Regions from separate parts of the Homo sapiens genome. Here region 1 is linked to region 2. The links are contacts of gene promoters, found by promoter capture Hi-C in blood cells and fetal thymus (Javierre and others, 2016). All regions are on one chromosome and are shown on one strand. Each heading gives the region's core, a stretch centred on a gene start or on the middle of the fragment in contact. The rest is flanking DNA. Distances are from core to core; before and after follow the strand shown.

Region 1 (7,362 bases), core at 369-2,868, 1.1 Mb before region 2:
ATAAAGAAAAAAAAAATGTACTGAAAAGGGCCGGATGCTGTGGCTCAAGCCTGTAATCCCAGCACTTTGGGAGGCCAAGACGGGTGGATCACGAGGTCAGGAGTTCAAGACCAGCCTGGCCAACATGGTGAAACCCCGTATCTACTAAAAATAGAAGAATTAGCCAGGCATGGCAGCGGGCACCTGTAATCCCGGTTACTCAGGAGGCTGAGGCTGGAGAATGGCTTGAACTCGGGAGGCGGAGATTGCCGTGAGCCGAGATCGTGCCATTGTACTCCAGCCTGAGCAACAAGAGCAAAACTCCGTCTCAAAAAAAAAAAAAAAAAGAAATCTGAATACAAACAAATGATGAAAATGTTATTCAAAAAACATTGGCAAGTGGAGTTTAGCAATATATTAAATACACTGAAGAAAAGTAGCATTTTTATCTAGAAATGCAAAACGGTTTAATATTTAGAAATCTATTAACATAATAAAATATGTTAAAATTCTATAGTAAATTAAAGGCAACAAATTGCATCAGCTCAAACATCAAATACATTTCCATTTTAGTCAAGAACAAGACAGCCAAAGCTTTTGCATCATTTAGCGGTGTTTTTTATGTGCTAGTCAAGAAAAGACTTGGAACAAAACATCATTAATATTAACAGATGATTTGACATTTCCTAACAAACCCAGAAGAATCAACCAATAAACTATTAAAAATTTAATAAGCATTTTTCCAGTATTTCAAAATAAATTAGATAAAATTTAAAATTAGACACTTTAATGATAGCAACAAATATGTCAACTTTTGATGAATTAACCTAACATGAAACTTTGACATTAAAAAGCACTGATAAATGAAAATTATCATGTCAACAAGTGAAATAAAAATACATGATACATTTATGCAGTAGACATGCCAATTAACATCACCATTAAAATTTTTGAAAACTATTTCTAAATATTTTATTAAACCATAAATTGATGAGAAAGCATAGTACATATTAAAATAAAAATAATAATGAGGATCTTGTGTTACAAACATGCTAAAATTTATCATAGAGAAGCTATAATATAACTAATGTTATTCTGGTACTAAAATATACAAATAGATAATGAAACATCTATGAAAGCCTCAAACTGAGATAATTATATAGAGGTGTTTTACAGCATTTTAAAATTCATTTGTATAAAAATAATATACAAGACTAATGTGATCAAATAGTACTTTTAAGGATGCTCGTTACAGCACTGTTTATCACGAGAAATATTAGAAAGCCTAAAGGTTCAACATAATATCAAGTATATTTTATTATCCATACATAAAATACTAAGTAATCATTGAATGAAATGGAAAGTATTACAATATATAATTAAGAAAATATAAATGTATAAAATATTTAGTATTCACCCAATTTTATTTTCTGCCTATTAATATTTTATTGTATATTTTATCAACACTTAGATTACAAAGTATATATGATCAAACTTTTAGGGAACATTTTTACAATGTCTTAATTTTTTCTTTGCATTGTCACTTGCAGATGTCTTCATAACAATCCATTGTTTAATATGCTATAATGTACCTTTAAAAAATGGTTTAAGTTGTTTTTCCTTTTCCCTTTTGTTGTTTTATCAGGTTCTGGAGATGGATGACTTTAACTTACACACTTATTGTTTGTGTATTCTTGACTAACTCACCTAAGATCTAAGCCTAAATAGTCTTCCCTGTTAATGGAAATTAAAAAGAAAGGGGCAATGAGGTTTTTACAAGGTTGAAATGAGGTGATGTACATAAAAGTTTTAGCATAATACTTGGCACATAGTAAGCACTGAGTGAACGGTAGCCAATTTTATTCAAACTATTACCATAAACATAGTTGTAGATAATTTTTGTGCAAATTTATGAGGTTTTTGCTCAGAAGAAATCTTAAAGGTAAAATAGCTGAGTCAAAGGTATAGTCATAAAATTTTTGATAGCTATTACTAAGCTGTCAATAGGGAATATTAGCAATGCAGTAAAGATCCTTTTGCCTAAGGCAAATGAAATGGCTTTCACTCCCTTTCTTTACCAGCTTTGGATATGTTAGAGATGTATTTTTATTTTTTAAATTTGTATTTACTACGTATACATAATAGTTGTAAATATTTATGGGGTACACCTGATATTTTGACACAGCAAAAAATGTGTAATGATCAAATCAGGGTAACTGGGATATTCATCACTTCAACACAATGTTCCTTTGTGTCAGGAACATTCCAGTGCCATCCTTTTAGTTATTTTTAAGTGTCCGATAAATTATTGTTATCTGTTGTTGTTCTATTGTACTACAGAACACTCAATCTTATTTCTTCTTTCCAACTGTATGTATGTACGCATTAATCATCCCCTCTTTGTCCTTCCCCCAAGCTACCCTTCCTAGCCTCTGGCATTTTACATCATTCTATTCTTTATCTCCAGGAGTTCAATATATTTTTTTTTAGCTCCCACATATTAGTGAGAATGTCTTTCAGTGCCTGGCTTATTTCACTTAACATAATATCCTCCAATTCATCAACGTTGTTGGAAATAACAGGATTTTATTAAAATGAAACAATACCAACTTTCTGGAAATGTGTACATTAAATATTGACAAGACATCTCTACATATTTTTCTGTGTTTTTTCATTTTTTTGCAGTAAGCTTATATTACTTACATAATCAAAAAATATTATTTATAAACATTAAATACTGAAACAAGTTTTTTTGCAGATGTTATTACTGTATTGTGTATCTAGAAAAGAGAGTTAACAGAAATACTATTATAACTAAGAAGATAATTAAGTGACCACATACAAGATGAACATATAGAAATCAACAGTTCTGTATACCATTAATCCGTGATTAAAAACTTTTAAAGAAGTTTATATTCAGGCGAAAATAATCATTTTAATGAAATATATATTTTCTAGATTCTTAATCTAGAGCCATTACATCATTCCTTCAAAGGCTATGTTTTAGTAATATATTTGTTATTATTACTTTTCATTGTAATTATATGTTTAATGTATTAAAATATTATTCTGAGATGGAATTTATAGGATTTACCTATGCAAAGATATTAGATAATGGTACAAAGAAAAGGTTTAAAAATGCTGAATATTCTAGAGAATTATATCCTGTTTTATTTTATTTGAACTTTATATATAAGTGTAATTAAACATACAGTATAACATATTTAATTTTGAATATCTAGAAACGTTGCATCACTTAATAATTTATAAATTTATGAAACTAATTTCAGAAATTATATGTTAGAATAAATTGGAAGCTTCTTTAAAGACATCTGTCTTCTTACTTCAAGAATAAAGTGATCTGGCTTAAAATTTTTAGCATGAAGAAAATAATTCAAATGTTGATAATATTTGGTGGAGATTTGTTTTAAAAATATATTAGTTTGTTTGCCTTTTTATAGAAATTTGACAGGGTGACAGGACAATTTCTTAAGGCAACAGTGGTATTTTTATATTTGTGTGACTAAGAAATTATTTACATGTTTTGAGTGCTATTAACTTAACTATCCATGTGATCTCTACTTGAAACTCTAAAATTGATTCTACTTCTCAGTTTTGAGTACCCTCCTAAATTTATTCATAAACAATGTTCCTTTTTATTGTCCAACTAGTATAGATTTTTTTAGGAAAATCCTTTCCTTGGTTTGATGACTCTCCAATTCTTCAGCCAGTTGTTTCTGGTATATAAATCACTTTCAATCAATACCAAAAAGATGTCTCAAAACCACAAATTTACATGCAAATTAAATGACCTACTCCTGAACAAATTTTGGATAAAGGCCGATATTAAGGCAGAAATCAAAATATTTTTTGAAATGAATGTAAACAAATACACAACATAACAGAATCTCTGGGATATAGCTAAAGCAGTGTCAAGAGGAAAGTTTATAACACTAAATGCCTACATGAAGAAGTTAGTAAGATCTCAAATTAACAACCTAACATCACACCTAGAGGAACGAGAAAAACAAGAGAAAACCAACCACAAAGGTAGCAAAAGAAAATAAATAACCAAAATCAGAGCTGAACTGAACAACGGAGATATGAAAACCCATACAAAATACCAGAAGGCCAAACATTTGTTCTTCAAAAGTATAAATAGGATTGATAGACTGCTAGCCAGATTAATAGATTAATACAGAAAAAAAGAGAAGATCCAAATAAACACAACCAGAAATGACAGACAACACATTACCATGGACCCCAGAGAAATACAATAAACCCTGTTATAAACTACAAACATGAAAGGAATGGATAAATTCCTGGAAACATACAGCCTCCCAAGATTGAACCAGAGAGAAACCAAAATCTTGAACTTACTGATAATGAGTTCTGAAATTGAATCAGTAATTTAAAAAAAAACCCTACCATCCAGAAAAAGCCCTAAAGCAGTTGGATTCACAGCTTAATTCTACCAGATGCACAAAGGTGAGCTGGTAGCAATCCTACTGAAATTATTCAAAAAAATGGAGATGGAGCTACTCCTCCCTAACTCATTCTATCAGGCCAGCATCATTCTGATACCAAAACCTGGGAGACACAGTGAAAAAGAAAGTTTCAGGCCAGTAGTCCTGATGAACATAGACATAAAAATCCTCAAGAAAATACTAGCAAACCAAATCCAGCAGCACATTAAAAAAATAATCCACCATGATAAAGTAGGCTTTATTCCTGGGATGCAAGGCTGGTTTAACATATACAAATTAGGAAATGTGATTCATCACATAAACAGAATTAAAAACAAAAACTGTGTGATTATCTCAATAAATTCAGAAAAGGCTTTGATAAAATTCAACACCCCTTCATGATAGAAACCTCAACAAACTAGGCATCAAAGAAGCACACCTCAAAAGCCAACATTGAAAAGTAAAACTAAAATTAGAAACAAGGAAACAGATTTAAAAACCCAAATAATGTGTTTTGCAGGAACTAAAACTAGATCCCAAGTGCCAGTAAGCAAGAATGTTACTTGCTCCTGAGGTTACTCTCCCATTCTCCTTATTAAAAAAAAAAAAAAAAAAAAAAAAAAAAAATCCAAAAAAACCTCACAAAAATAAAGTAAACAAAAGCCAAACAACTATTCTAAACTGTATCAGGTATATTACATTAGATAACAAACAATTTTGAAATGTTCATAATATTGAAAACCAAATGTTTGCTTTTCACTCACTCTACTTGTCTGAATAGAGTGGCCAGGGGCTGTGTTCCTCATTATCACTCAGGCATCAAGGCCGATGTAGCATCCATGTTGACGCATTCTTCCACAGTTACTGAGGAAGGTCAAAGTACAGCTGGCATTCAGGAGGAGTGCTCCAGCTTGGAGGTGACACACACCACTTCTGCCCAAAACTCATTGACCAGAATTAGAAGTCTGGTCCCATTAAATCACAAAAGGGCAGGAATTTGGTGCTTCATGGTGCCCAGAAGAAGATGAGAATCAGGTATCAATGAACAGCTGTATGTTGACCATGTAAATATTTTTCTTCTTTTCTCTCCTCTACTGCCATCTCACACTTTCTGAGCAAGAACTTGCCTCTTCTTTTTTCACAAGGAAAAACTAAAACTACAAAGTATGAATTCTCTCAGATGCCTTACTCCAGAGTAACTAAATTACTGTAACTCCACTCATCTTCAGCCGCTTTATTCTGGTCTCAAAGGGATGTCCCGACTCCTGGGAAAAGATATTCCTCTCACTGAAGTTTACTTTCACTCCATTTCTTTAAAGACCCTGCTTCATCCATAATTTAATTTGATCCAGTATTATAAATTTCATCATCACTTATGTACCTTCCTTCCAGTCTGTAAACAAGTTCAATTATCTCACTTTCATAAAACTTCTCACTACGTTCTTGTACTCTCTCTTTCCATAAATGTGGAAAAATGGTACTTTATAATTTTTTTCTCTTTTTAATTGTGAAAGATTACACATATAAAAGTGTTTATTTTATACATATCTCTATCTATCTATCTATCTATCTATCTATCTATCTATCTATCTATCTATCTATCTAGGTTTTCATAATAAGAGAATGCCTCTATACATGGAATGTAAGAAATATTATAATACCCAGCCCTTTGAAGTCACCTTGTGTCACTTTTCTACTTAAACCTGTAGGAAGCCATTTGTAAAATTTTGAGATACTTATCTCCTTGCTATTCTTTGATAGTTTTAGCAAACACGTATATTCCTACTAAGAGCATTTTCTTTTATTTTTTACTATACTCATTTATAACTGTAATCCTACCACATGTATGATTCTCTATTCTTTGCATATTCTCTCAATATATAATTGTAAGGTTGAAATCTGTGGGTGCATTTATCCACAATTCATTGAGTTATACTGCTGTAGAAAATTCCATTGTTTGATATCTTATAATTTTGTTTTTGTTCATTCTACTGTTCACATACCTTTCGGTAGTTTCAAGGTTTCTTTTTTTGTTATTACTGACACTAACATTACGAAGTCCGGGCGCGGTGGCAGTGGCTCACACCTGTAATCCCAGCACTTTGGGAGGCCGAGGTGGGCGGATCACCTGAGGTCAGGAGTTCAAGACAAGCCTGGCCAACATGGTGAAACCCCGTCTCTACTAAAAATACAAAAATTAGTCAGGCGTGGTGGTAGGTGCCTGTAATCCCAGCTACTCGGGAGGCTGAGGCAGGAGAATCACTTGAAACCAGAAGGCAGAGGTTTCAGTGAGCCGAGATAGTGCCATTGCACTCCAGTCTGGGGGACAAGAGTGAGACTTCGTCTCGAAACAAAAAAACAAAAATATATATGGTATTACGAATATTCTGTCTCAGATATTCAAAACAAGATAAACTATTCTCTAAGATTTGCACATGAAAATGAAATTTTTGGGTCATCAAGTATATATATGTTAAACCTTACTTAGTAATGACAGGTTATCTTTCATAATGCCTCAATCAGTTAACACTCCCCAACCATAGGATATAATTTCTGTTGTTGCACAACACTGCCAACATTTAGTATTGTAACACGTTTTACATTTTTATAAATCTACAAGGTGTGAATCATTTCATAAGAATTTTAATTTGCATTTTTCTAAGCATTAATATGGTTGAATGTTGATTCATATTTTATTGAACATTTATGTTTCCTTTCCTCTGTAATACCTGTTCAAGACTTTTGCTCATTTTTCTATTAAATCATTAGGTTTAAAATAAATAGGTGTTTTGCATATATTCTATATGCTACGCTATTCTATTTAGAACTATTTACATTAAAATGCTATTTCCCAGATTATGGTTTATCTTTTCACATTTCCTAGTGACTTTTGACAAATAGAAGTTTTTTTTTTAAG
Region 2 (6,324 bases), core at 657-3,156:
AGCATGTAATTATCACATCAGGGTAAATGTGGTATCCATTACCTCAAGCATTTCCTTTGTGTTACAAACAATCCACTTGTACTTTGTTTTTTAAAATGTACAATTGAATTATTATTGACTGTACTTCCGGAAAGGTGTCCCAATCCAGACCCCAAGAGAAGGTTTTTGGATTTCATACAAGAAAGAATTGAAAGCAAATCCATAAAGTGAAGCAAGTTTATAAAGAAAGCAAAGGAAAAAAAAAATGGCTATTCCATAGGCAGAGCAACGGCTTGAGCTGCTGGCCTAAGGATACCTATAGTTATTTCTTGATTACAGCTAAACAAGGGGTGGATTATTCACAAGTTTTCCAAGGAAAGGTGTAGGCAATTCCCAGGGCTGAGAGTTCCTCCCCATTTTAGACCCATATAAGGTAACTTCCAGACGTTGCCATGGCATCTGTACACTGTCATGGCACTGGTGGGGGTGTCTTTTAACATGATAATGAATTATAATTAGCATATAATGAGCAGTGAAGACGACCAGAGGTCACTGTATTCATCATCTTGGTTTCTGGTGGGTTTTGGTTGGCTTCACTACTGCAACCTGTTTTATCGGCAAGGTCTTTATGACTTGTTTTTCCTGCCTGTGGACCTTCTATCTCACTCTGTGACTAACCTCCTGGGAATGCAGCCCAGTAGGTTTCAGCCTTATTTTACCCAGCCCCTATTCAAGATGGAGTTGCTCTAGTTCAAACGCCTCTGACAACTAGTCACCCTGCTGTGCTATCAAATACTTGATATTATTCATTCTTTCTAACTGGAATAATATTTTTTAAATAGTAAAGAGTGAGATACATGAACTCCAAATATCTGAGACAGGTCACAATCAACTCAGAAAGTTTATTTAGCCAAAGTTAAGAACTTGCATCCATGACATGGCACAGATCCTGACAACATGCGCCCAAGGTGGCTGGGGCACAGCTTGGTTTTACACATTTTAGGGAGACATGGGGCAGCAATCAATATATGTAAGATAAACATTGGTCTGATCTGGAAAAGCGGGGCAACTCCAAGTGGGGAGGAAGTTCCAAGTCATAGGTAGATAACAGACAGTTGCATTCTCTTATGAGCCTCTCCAAATGAGGCAATCAGACATGCATTTATCTCAGTGAGCAGAGGGGTGACTTTGAATAGAATGGGAGGCAGGATTCCCTAAGCAGTTCCCAGTATGACTTTTCCCTTTAGCTTAGTGATTTGGGGGTCCCATGATTTATTTTCAATTCATAAGATATAAAAAAGATATAAAAAAGAAAGGTACACCTGAGTAAATATCTACTCAACAGGGAAGCAGGATACATGTTCTCTTTGCTTTCCCTGTTTCCTTGATAGCCATGCACCTTATGTTTATATTCCTCATTATTTGATGAAGTTAATCATTGCAATAAGAGAAATACGAAAGACTCTAGAACTCTAGACACGAAAGCAATTATACAGCCTTTATGACACGCAAATTTATTCACTCTGTAAAAAAAAAGTAATTACTTTCGGTAGGGTCTCCCATGTATCTTCCAAAAGGCAGACTGCTCTGGGTGCATGTAAAAATTAACACGATACCCTATACAAAAGGGAATGCTCAGAGTTAACAGCTAGAGAAGAGAGGCGCCAATCTTAGACACAGGCTTATTCCTCCGCACCCTCCCCCAAAACAAATGGAGGACAGAAGAAAAAAGAAAAGTAGTTAATACAACTATTACTCTACGGAAATATTAGGGGTAGCGCAAACAAAGTTCTGACACTAAACTTTACTGAGCCCTGCATCCTGCCCACGACCCCCCCAGAAACACCTACGCACCACTCTCCTAGCCGCCGCAGCCCCGCCAGTCTCGCCGGGAGGAACCCCCAGCGCCGCGGTACAACCACGGCACTTCCGCCCGCCCCCCGCGCCTCGGGCGCAAGCGTTTGGTGTGTCTGCGTCGGGGGCGGAGCCTCTTGTCCCTCTGCGCGGCCCGTTCCGCCTCTCTTCTCCCACCGCCTGTCGGCTGACGTGTCTGCAGTTCCTCCGCGTCTACTGCGAGTCAGGCCGTGATGGCGGACGCCTGGGAAGAGATTAGGCGGTTGGCGGCCGACTTCCAGCGGGCGCAGTTCGCCGAGGCCACGCAGAGGTGCCCGACCCTCCCTCTCCTTTGTGGAGCCCAAATTAGGCCGTGGGCGGACACGCCTGTATCTGGGACTTTAGACCCGCGGCCCTGCATCCCGGGTCTTCTCGCTGCTTGTCACCATTCTCTCCTCCTCCCTCTGTCCCGAGCCTGGATCGCAGTTCCAAGTCCAAGGCTCGGCGGGAAAGTCCTCAGCCTAGGACGCCCTGGAGCCCCCCAGCCCAGCTGCAGCGAAATGCTGGCGCGCCCCGCCCCACCATGGACGGGGCCGGTGATTTCGAGCTGCCTTTATTGAGCATTTCTTTGACCCTCCCTCACCCACCAACCACCAAATCACTGTGACATCTTGGCTATTATACACTTCCTGATCTAGAATGAGCTCGAAAGGAGAGGCTAACCCCCGCCCCCAGTACAGTACTTGGCAAATAGTATGTTGATCCTTAAAACTTCTTGCCCTTTTATCTCTCGTAACAGACCTAGGGCTAGACCCCTGACCCCATCTGTTATTCAGGGCACTGACATTTTCTACAAGCCCACTAACCTTTGGAGGATGTGTCCAGAGGAGCCTAACTCTGCTTTTTAAAAATAACGCTAATAGAAGCCTTTCTATTCTTTGACTACTTCCTACCTGCGATGTTTTATTCCTTTTGAGCCGGAAGACAGCAATCCCCTTATGCTGTATTTTCTACCACTGATAGCAAACTCGTAACTGCATGGGTAACTAACGTGGGTAAAAGTTATGGTTTCACTAGGCCACATCCCCTGCCTGCTTGCAGACCATGTGTGTAAGTGAGGCAATTATGCACTTAATTTAAAAGAAAATTCTGATTAAACTGGAAATTAGGGCATTTTTTGTTTTGTTTTGTTTTGTTTTTTCTTTTTTCCTACCTAAATAAATGTCTTCAATTTTCCCTTCAGATTTGAAGATTGGAAGCAGGCCTGTAAGAGACAACAGACTTGAAATTTGTGATGGGATGATGTGTACCAATTAAATAAATGATTTAAGCATATGTAAACCTACTTACTCTGAAAGGTTTTTTTTTAACTTATTGAATCAGTTAGTGAAAAATACAGATATTGTGATGTAGAAGTTAGTGACTAAACAAACTTTTTAAAAGCCTGTTTTCATACATTGTATTAATTTTATTGAGCGCCAATGTCTCAAGTGGACTTTTGAAACAACTTTTTTTCTTTCCCTCAGGTTGTCCGAGCGGAACTGCATTGAGATTGTTAATAAATTGATTGCTCAGAAACAGCTAGAAGTAGTTCATACACTCGATGGAAAGGAATATATTACTCCAGCCCAAATTAGTAAAGAAATGAGAGATGAGCTACATGTCCGAGGTGGTAGGTAATTCTTTAGTGTTTTTTTTTTTCTTGGATTTTTGGAAGGGGCAAAACAAACAAACAAAACCCGTAAACATGTAATTGCATACTAAATTATAGATTGTAAGATATCGTTTTCAATTGTTAATTTGATAATCAGGCTTAATATTTTTACTGGGTTCATGCAAACATGGTCATATAATTTAAATGAACTCAAATGTTGTCACTTAAAATATTTTATCATTTTGAGTTATGTGTACTATACATGAATTAATTGTTTCTTTTTACAATTCATTAATTTATTGCATGACTCAGGGAAGGGTATTCAGCTGCCTTTTATTAGGTGGTAATTGTGAAGGGGGACAGTATCTTACAGGATTATAGATTTTTGAAAATCAAGGCTGTATTTCTTTTTAAGGCTTACTTGTACTTACAAATTAGGTAACTCAATCCAGTGTGGTGCTACACCAATCATATTGTATGAAATGCTGTTAAAAACACGCACAAAGTTGGTTTCCTTTGTCTTCTTAAAATTTGAACAGACTACCAAGCATATTTGAATACTATTTGATTAAAATAGAAGCAATTATGAAAGCCTCTCTTCATATTATCAGAGTGTAACATTGGTCTTTGTCTTTTTTTATTTATCTATTTTCCTTCATAGTACCTTTAAAATATGAGCTATAATTTGAATTACTTAACAGATTTTCTTATGCTGATATGTAGAAGCCTACCTTTTAGTATCAAATAATTGAAAAAAAGTTCATCTTAATTTAGTTGTCAATATCTCTTTGATCACAGTAGATAAATTCTGAATTGTGAAGGGAAATGAATACCCTTCATAGATAGAGCCAATTTGTGTGCCAGTTGGTGCTCATAATTGGCCTGATGTTATTTAAAAAAAAAAAAAAAATTGAAAGTAAGTTATTGCTTATGGCTTCAGCCATGAAGACTTAGCCATCAGCTAATGGTGTGTATTTGAAGACATTGATTATTCTGGCTCTCTGTTCTATGCAGGACTTTGACCAAAACTTAAATGTTAGAATTTATAGCTTTGGGTTGGTATGTACGCATAGATCATTTAAAATAAATGAATGTCTTTTCTTCAAAGGTCGAGTAAACATTGTTGATCTACAACAGGTAGGTTTTAAATTTATAAAATTTTTGCTTTACTTTCTCAATTTTTTGATACTGTGAATTTGTTCAAGTATTCACTAATGCTGGTATCATATTTTGTGTAGTGTTTATAAAGAAATAGTTATATAAGCCTCGCTGATACACTGAATTGATTTAACAAGTTCTGATACATTAAAATGATTTAATAAATTCGGATTTATTGAAATGATTTAATAAGTTGGCCTTATTAAAGAGTTGGCCAACTCTTCCCTAGTTGGCTTTCTTATTCTTAACTTTTTACCAAATGAACTCATAGTTATTTTATGTAAGTATAGAGTTTATGTCATTTTGGGAGAAAAGTCACCAGTTTCATGTTTATATGTTTTTAGTATATGAAAGTAATAGAGAAACATTTTTAAAAGTAGAAGCTATTTTCAAAATATACAAATATATATGTCATTACCAAGGTACACTATAAACAAGAAGCCAGCGAATTTTCTGTAAAATGCTATCTGTTATATGAATATGTAATTTACTGCTTTATATAAACTTACTAGCAAGTGACAGTTTAATTCTTCAGAACTGAAAATAACTAAGCAATACACCTCTAATTTTTTATTTGGCCAATGCTTTTCGTATTATTTCAGATTGATTCAAAATTTAAGAATAAGCAATTTCTTTCTTTCTTTTTTTTTTTTTGAGATGGGAGTCTCCCTATGTTGCCCAGGCTGGTCTCAAACTCTTGAACTGAAGGGATCCTCCCGCCTCATCCTCCCAAAGTGCTGGAATCCAGGCATGAGCCACCATGCCTGGCCGGCAATTTCTTTAAAAATATAGTTCTAAGTATATAATTTCAAGCTTAAGAAACAATACAAACTAATCATTAATAGATTTTGTATTTGTTTTCCAGGTAATTAATGTGGACCTGATTCATATTGAAAATAGAATTGGTGACATTATTAAATCAGAAAAGCATGTTCAGTTAGTGTTGGGACAACTGATAGATGAGTAAGTACAATAAAGTACAAATTTAAGAGCACTTTGTTTATTTTCTTTCTTTTTTTTATAGTGTTTAAATTTAGGCCAATTATGGCCAGTTAGACATTTCATTTATAACTCTTACAGTGTTGATTTTCATGATAAGGTTTATTTCACTTAAAAAGTAAGTGTTTAAGCCACATATGGTGGCATGTACCTGTAATCCCAGCTACTCAGAAGGCTGAGGCTGGAGGATTGCTTGACCAGGAATTTGAGACCAGCCTACGTAACATAGCAAAGATCCTGTCTCAAATTAAAAAAAAAAAAAAAAAAATTCAGTGTTAATGTATGGAATACTTAGAAATAATATAAACTTCTATTTTTTTCTTAATAAGAAAACGTAAAACGTAACTTTTACGTTCCTTCCCGTATAATCTTAACTCTGAAAGCAAATTTGTTCCAAAAATGTTAATGAAAATCAAATACAAATTTCCACTTAAAAAAATCCCAGCATGCCAGCCTGGGCAACATGGCAAAACCCATTTCACTAATTAAGTTTGCTAATTAAAAAATTAGCCAAATGTGGTGGCTCGCACCTGTAGTCCCAGCTACTCAGGAGGCTGAGGTAGGAGGATTGCTTGATCCCAGGAGGTCAAGGCCACAGTGAGCCATAATCATGCCATTGCACTCCAGCCTGGGTGACAGAGTGAGACCTTGATGCAAAAAAAAAAAAGAAAAAGAAAAAGAAAATGTATTGTTTGATTAAT

What was found. The method cuts DNA at HindIII sites, captures the fragments that hold promoters and counts their contacts. A CHiCAGO score of 5 or more calls a contact.
Region 1: a fragment that was not itself captured here is called in contact with the fragment with the promoter of UFL1-AS1 in region 2 in 1 of 17 cell types (endothelial precursors); the score reaches 8.6 in endothelial precursors.

The regions. Positions count from the first base shown.
Region 1 is chr6:95,434,654-95,442,015 of GRCh38, forward strand. No RefSeq gene overlaps it. Among named protein-coding and RNA genes, the nearest start is that of MANEA-DT, 140 kb to the right of the region's middle. The HindIII fragment of the contact is 2,095 bases long and covers 572-2,666 here.
Region 2 is chr6:96,519,808-96,526,131 of GRCh38, forward strand. UFL1-AS1 (UFL1 antisense RNA 1) reads right to left here and starts at 1,907. Exons shown (of 4, transcript XR_007059687.1): 1 at 1-1,907. UFL1 (UFM1 specific ligase 1) reads left to right here and starts at 1,999. Exons shown (of 19, transcript NM_015323.5): 1 at 1,999-2,143; 2 at 3,339-3,484; 3 at 4,575-4,603; 4 at 5,490-5,587. The coding sequence starts at 2,067. RefSeq lists enhancers at 1-715, 716-1,587, 1,588-2,459, 1,604-1,793, 2,460-3,331. The HindIII fragment of the contact is 5,811 bases long and covers 1-5,435 here.